Linked DNA regions of Homo sapiens: region 1 is linked to region 2. The links are contacts of gene promoters, found by promoter capture Hi-C in blood cells and fetal thymus (Javierre and others, 2016). All regions are on one chromosome and are shown on one strand. Each heading gives the region's core, a stretch centred on a gene start or on the middle of the fragment in contact. The rest is flanking DNA. Distances are from core to core; before and after follow the strand shown. Region 1 has its middle 69 kb from the start of NEUROD2. Region 2 holds the start of GSDMB (gasdermin B).

The links. Contacts are between HindIII fragments. The CHiCAGO score rates a contact against its expected background, and 5 or more counts as called.
Region 1: a contact is called between a fragment that was not itself captured here and the fragment with the promoter of GSDMB in region 2, in 1 of 17 cell types (activated CD4 T cells). The highest score is 6.2, in activated CD4 T cells.

What each region holds. Positions count from the first base shown.
Region 1 is chr17:39,536,865-39,540,319 of GRCh38, forward strand. It overlaps a transcript of CDK12 not described here. Among named protein-coding and RNA genes, the nearest start is that of NEUROD2, 69 kb to the right of the region's middle. The HindIII fragment of the contact is 2,290 bases long and covers 478-2,767 here.
Region 2 is chr17:39,917,314-39,920,877 of GRCh38, forward strand. It overlaps GSDMB (gasdermin B), which reads right to left and starts at 1,322. Exons shown (of 11, transcript NM_001165958.2): 1 at 1,221-1,322; 2 at 1-17. The coding sequence starts at 3. RefSeq lists promoters at 1-551, 102-510, 1,234-1,596 and a cis regulatory region at 1,575-1,588. The HindIII fragment of the contact is 7,383 bases long and covers 1,010-3,564 here.

The sequences.
Region 1 (3,455 bases), core at 373-2,872, 380 kb before region 2:
GCTACAGCATACTTCTGTGGAATAAGAAGGTATAGCCATGAAATAAATTTACTTAGACCCAGGTTCTCTAGGACCTGTAAATGGATGGACTTTTTGATATCTTGCTCTGGCATGTTTGTAAACTACAGATAGTATTGACAGCTCTAAAGGAATGAAGGGCATTTTATCCAGGCCAAACCAACCCTGAGGGAGGCAGCATGAAGAAACCTTTAAGAAGTCCACCATATAGCAGTCAGAGCTAAGTAAAGAACAAAGTCTGAGTCTTGGAGGATGTCTTTTCTCTACCTAAGGGGCCTATCTGATGGACTCTCTAGGAGGGGATCCTTCTCCCTCCTCAGTCTCAGAACTACAATAGTGCCTAATGAGGGACACCCTTGGTGAGGATCAGCTTGTAGATGACCCTCCTCACCAAGGCTAATGCAATTTTGAATGCATTTGGACCTGGAGAAAACAGGCTGAATTCAAAGACCTAAAGAAAGCTTAGTAGCCTGGTCCCTTTTTTAAAGTCTGGAACTTTTTAGTTTGGCCTTATACTAGTGTTAATATTTATAATTTCTGTTAGGGGACCAAAAGTCTCAGAAAATGAAGCAATATAAGAGGTGGAAATAAGGGTAAGAAGGGAGAACTAGAAGAGTCTGGTAGCTGGGCTGCAGAAAGAGACTTGGGGTATAATTCCTTATTTTTATTTATTTATTTATTTATTTATTTATTTATTTATTTATTTTTGAGATGGACTTGCTCTTCTTGGAGTGCAGTGGTGTGATCTCGGCTCACTGCAGCCTCCACCTCCCAGGTTCCAGCAATTCTCCTGTCTCAGCCTCCCAAGTAGCTGGGATTACAGGTGCGTGCCACCATGCCCAGCTAATTTTTTGTATTTTTAGTAGTGACAGGGTTTCACCATGCTGGCCAGGCTGGTCTTGAACTCCTGACCTTGTGATCCACCCGCCTCGGCCTCCCAAAGTGCTCGGCCTCCCAAAGTGAGCCACCGCGCCCAGCTTGGATATAATTGCTTATAAAGAAGAGAGGGATACAGGATGGAAGGAAAAATTATGGTTGAGTTAGTGAAATTTATAGGATAATTTTCTTAGAGATTCACAGTTCATTTCAGGAAGACCCCATTAAAGCACCAATACTGAGTAAAGAATTCCCCTTAATTACAGTAGTCTTACCTTTAGGGTTGGAGGATGGGCCAAGAACCCCTAGGATACTATGAAGACATTTTCTGTAGGGAAACTAGAAAAGATGGGCAAATATGTTAAGCAATATGTAAGGACATTTACTTAACACTGTTATCTACATAGTTCAAGAGAGTAATTCAAGAATAAGGAGGAATGACATGGATGCATCACATTAAACAGTTATTTGTATTGTTTGAATTTCAAAACTCCTGCAAGTGGTTTTAGGTATGCTAAGTCAACCTAGAGACTAGTAGTATTCCTCTGCCACTCATTTTAGATCCAAATGATGGCAGTGCATAGAAGAACAAACGAGAATATGCGAATTAGAGTCACAGAATGTTAGAGCTACAAAAGAAGATTAGTTTGTTTGGTTCAGTACCATCTTTAACCAGTAAAAAATGCCCAGAAAGGCCGAGGAACATGTATGGTGTTGCGAGAAAGAAGGGAGAGAAAGGGAACTAACATTGTTGGGTACCTGCTATGTGTCAGGCGCTGCCTAAGTGCTTTGTTTTTATCTTGATTGATTAGCACCTTGAGGCTAAGGGATAGAATGAATAAATGGCAAACCCCGGCTACCTGGGAGCGGTGGCTCACGCCTGTAATCCCAGCACTTTGGGAGGCCAAGGTGGGTGGATCACGAGGTCAGGAGATCGAGACCATTCTGGCTTACACGGTGAAACCCCATCTCTACTAAAAATACAAAAAATTAGCCAGGCGTGGTGGCACAAGCCTGTAGTCCCAGCTTCCCGGGAGGCTGAGGCAGGAGAATTTGCTTGAACCCAGGAGGTGGAGGTTGCAGTGAGTGAAGATTGCGCCACTTCACTCCAGCCTAGGCGACAGAATGAGACTCCATCTCAAATAAATACATACATACATACATACATACATACATACATACATACATACATACATAAGGCTAGTATCCTGAGCAATATGTAGGAGATAAAAGGGAGTGGTAGACCACGTTTTTCTCTCTAACCACACAGGGCTAAACTAGAGGAAGTAAAGAGTCAGCATTTGAGAGTGAGGTTAATCTAAGGAAGTATTTGCCAAACTGTTGAAAGCGACTCATAAATAACTTCTCCATTCCTAGAGACCTTCCAAAACATGTTGATAAGAGTTAGGACTGATAGGGACCAAGATTACTCTTGGCTCTGGAATTGATTTTCATTTTGGAAAATCAAGTCATGACCTGAGAATGTGGGATTAATTGTACAAATAGGAAACAAAATGGAGCTTCTCATCCTAAAATGTCTTCAAAGAGAATAGTATTTATCTACCATGAATGAAGGAGATAAATTCCTTTGGTGACTGTACTTGTTTTTTTGTTTTGTTTTGTAACACTTTGAAGTCATGAAACTGAATTTGTAATCTTGGGGAGATTCAGTGCCAAGTTCAAGGCAGGTGGCAATTTGAAAATTGACAGAATAAGATTGTGTTCCTCATGGTTGTTTGATATAATATCCCAATAGTTATACCATGAGGGCTGCTTCAGTGGGGAGCATTAATATCATTAGCAGAGGCATGTCCTGTGTACAGACAGGACAACCTCTGAGGAAGAAGACTGGGGGAGGGTCCCACCTTCAGGAAGCTTCTGGGTCTTGTGAGAGAGGTCAGTCTTACAGCTGGTGGAGAGTGGGGAATCTGTAAGTCAACATATCAATGCAGGTTGTAATATAAAACTATTATAATAAGAGGAAACCAAAGGAAAGAAATAATCGGAGAAAGTGGACTTATTCAGAAACAATTATTTGAAAATAAAGAAGATAGGGGACATAGAACAGAAGAGGAAGGTGAGCAGTGGGAGGAATCTCATGGAAGAGGGCTCATGTATGTTTTGTGCAGAGGCTGTGAATTGGCTGACCAGAATGGTACAGGAAAGGAGTATTAGGAAATGAAGTTGGAGGAGCAATCTCATTGGCTTGAATGAGGAATTTGAGTTGTTAAGCAGTAGCAGGGAACAGAGCATGATGAGATGAAAATCACATTGAGGACTTTTGTAGCAGTACTTGGTCAAGGAAGCAGGAAAGTTCACTAAAATATTATTGTTCTTGCCAAGACATGAAGCACTGAGAGTTTACAGTAGAGTAAGACAAGGAGAATCAGAGGAAAGAAAGTGGGTCCATAGGAATTAGCAAGGCTTGGTCACAGCTTGGATGTGAGGAGAGGGATAAAAGCCTCAGGATGATGATCCCAAGACACATTTGTGCTGTTGGTGGTGATGAAAGCTTGATAAGAGGGAACTGCTTTGTTTTTAAGTAGGAAGTGTTTTGTCTT
Region 2 (3,564 bases), core at 72-2,571:
CATTGCGCCTGGACCAACTCAGAAACAGAAGCCAATTTCAGTTTTTGGGAGGAGGGTATTGGTTCAAGTATTTAAATCTTCCACATTTGGCAGCCTGAGGTGTCAGGCCTCTGAACCCAAGCTAAGCCATCATATTCCCTGTGACCTGCATGTATACATCCAGATGGCCTGAAGCAACTGAAGATCCACAAAAGAAATGAAAATAGCCTTAACTGATGACATTCCACCATTGTGATTTGTTCCTGCCCCACCCTGATACAATATAGTCTCCCCGCCGCCGCCCTTAAGAAGGTACTTTGTAATATTCTCCCCTGCCCTTAAGAAGGTACTTTGTAATATTTCTCCACCCTTGAGAATGTACTTTGTAAGCCTATCCCAAACATATAAGAACTAATGATAATGCCACCACCCTTTGCTGACCCCTTTTTTGGACTCAGCTTGCCTGCACCCAGCCTTGTTGCTCATATAAAGCCCGTTTCGTGGACTCTCTTCACATGGACGCACGTGACATGAGGTCAAGGAAGAGCCAAAGGTTCCAGGACAATCAGTACCTGGAATGATTTGCCTGCCTTACTTCTAGAACGTGAGGCAGCCATGACTCAGTAAAGAGGGCTAAACATCACAGATCCCAGATTCTCCTCTGCCCCTCATGGTACCCATCTGGAGGAAAAAAGTAGCAGCTATTGCCCCAAATAGAGAAAGTGAGACCCATTTTCTACATCTCCCACAGCAGAGTTGCCCCCTTGTTCCAAGGGGCCCAAGGGATGGAAAGGCAGGCCCACCATGCCCCAGCCAGACTAGCCCCAACGTTGATGAACAGAGGAACCAGGGAGGAATGACGGGCACGGTTGCCAGACTTCACATTACTAACCTCAACTGGTCGTTTCTTCCCTTGGCTCTGATTCTTGGGCTCCCTGCCTTGCTGTATTCTGCAAGGCAATTGGATGGGTGCCTCCCTACCAACAATTTCCCAATGAGGTGGTGGTAAATTGGCCTCAGAAGAAACAAAAGCTTCCTGGGATCCACTTCCCCATCCTACCTTTGGCCACCTTCCCCTATATCCCTTCTGCCCAGCACAGGCACTTATCCACTCACTGCTTCCTCCTCTGTCTCTGGCCCCATCATGGTGGTTGACTCTCAGTTCACTACCAACCTGGGAATTCTAGGTGTCTGGAAAGACAGTACCCGGGAACCACAGGCCCATCTCAAGTGGTACCCACCTCCTCTCTGACCTCAGCTGTTCACCAGAAATGGAAGTTGTGAGAATCCCCACAGATCTCTGCACAGTTCCTGGCCTCTGAATCTCAGGAAGCTAAAATAATGAAACTGAAAGTTGTCCAGGTGTGGAACTTCCTGGACGGGTGGGTAGGGCTGGGTGCCCCACCTCCCAAGCCTTTAGATAAGCCACCTTATAACTGAGCTGGAGGCAGATTAAGGCCAGAACCCCCCTTTTTTTTTTTTTTTTGAGACGGAGTCTTGCTCTATCGCCGAGGCTGGAGTGCAATGGCGCAATCTCGGCTCACTGCAAGCTCCGCCTCCCAAGTTCACGCCATTCTCCTGCCTCAGCCTCCCGAGTAGCTGGGACTACAGGTGCCTGCCACCACGCCCAGCTAATTTTTTTGTGTGTGTTTTTTAGTAGAGACGGGGTTTCACCGTGTTAGCCAGGATGGTCTCAATCTCCTGACCTTGTGACCCACCCACCTCGGCCTCTCAAAGTGCTGGGATTACAGGTGTGAGCCACCATGCCCGGCCAGAACCCCTTCTTCTTCTTGTACCTAAGGAGTGGGTAGGAGATCCTGGTATGTATTCTAGGTGAGTGTGGGCCAGACAATGGTGCACACCGTGGCGCCCTGGGCCATGCAATCCAGTGTGTTTGGAATAGAGAAATGGAATATGAGTAGGTATCAAGTGCCAGCAGGCAATGGCTGTGTCTGTGCCAGGGACATGAGGACCATAACCCAGCAGAACCAGCTGCCCAAATGCCATGCGACGGTCAACACTGAAGACCCAGGACAACAGCAGCTAACACCTGGAGGCAACAGGGTGGGCCTGTAAGGAGCACTCAGCCTCCCTCCCCATCTCGTGCTCCCGTGTACACTCTCAAGGAGATGCTGGTCTTCCTTATCTGGATGCCATCTGGCTTCTCCACCTACCTCCTTCTCCAGGGAGAGGCCTCTGACCTCACCCATGTCCTCTCTCAGAGATAACCACCCCGGTGAGCCCAGCCTGTCTTCCAGCCTCTGCATGCCTCAGTTCTGAAAGAACATTTGAAGGGATGACAGGCCAGGCGTGGTGGTTCATGCCTGTAATCCCAACACTTTCAGAGGCCGAAGCAGGCAGATCACTTGAGGCCAGGAGTTCAAGACCAGCCTGGCCAACATGGCGAAACCCCGTCTCTACCAAAAAAAAAAAAAAAAAAAAAATTAGCCAGATGTTTTGGCACACACCTGTAATCCCAGCTACTCAGGAGGCTGAGGCATGAGAATTGCTTGAACCTGGGAGGCGGAGGTTGCAGTGAGCCAAGATGGTGCCACTGCACTCCAGCCTGGGCAACAGAGCAAGACTCAGTCTCAAAAAAATAAATAAATAAATAAATAAATAGACGACAGTGGTGGTAGTAACAATTACAATTATAATAATATGGCTACCATATATTGAGTATTTACTATATGCCAGGCACTGTGCTAATGCTCACAACAGCCCTAAGAGGCATTATCTTTACACAACAGTGGAATAAACTGAAGCTCAGAGAAGTTGACACAGCAACATGGCTAATAAGTGGCAAAGCTGGGATTTGAACCCAGATCGTTGTTGATGTTCTCCAGCACCTCACCCTGACTATACTCTTGCAGGCTGGTGAAAGCAACCAGGGCACCCCTACTCCCAGGAGTGAAAGCAGTGGCTATATTTCTCTTTCCAATACTGTGTGGGCTCTACTCGGACAGGGGTGGTGGCTGGACTTGGGCAAATATCCCACACTCCCTGACACTCACTCCAAGGGTGCTGTGATGGTGGACCGGGGCTAGAGACCCCAGGCTGCTGGGGACAGCTCCTCCCTTCTACCTGGGACTTTGTGCCTCTCCTGGGAATAGCAGCTGATACTCCCCAGAACACGCTGGAAGGTCAGTGCCCTCGTGAGATAAGGATTCCTTGCTATAGGACTCCTCTCTCTCCTAGCCATGTTGGCCTCAGAAAGTCCCCAGAACCTCTTCCCCTGCCACTCAGGCTTATGGTGGGAGGAGGAAGTATGAAAAGTCCCCTCCACTGAAAGGCCAGAAGGAAACGCAGCGCTCCCAAGGGAGAGGTGACTGGGGAAAGGCCTTGGGGAGAGAAGTGAGAAACTGGAGAAGGGCTGGGGATTCACTGGGAAGGACTGAGCACCACTTGGGACCCTGGCTCCACGTGTAAACCATTGCTGGAGTGTCCCCCTCCTTGGCCATGGCACAGGTCACCCCAGCCTCTGGGGCCAAGGCGCAAGACCTGTCGGAGAACAGCCAGGCAAAAGCACAGAGAATTTTGCTCTCTGACTACCGCTGCCGCCGCCAGTTCCCTCACAGCCCCCTT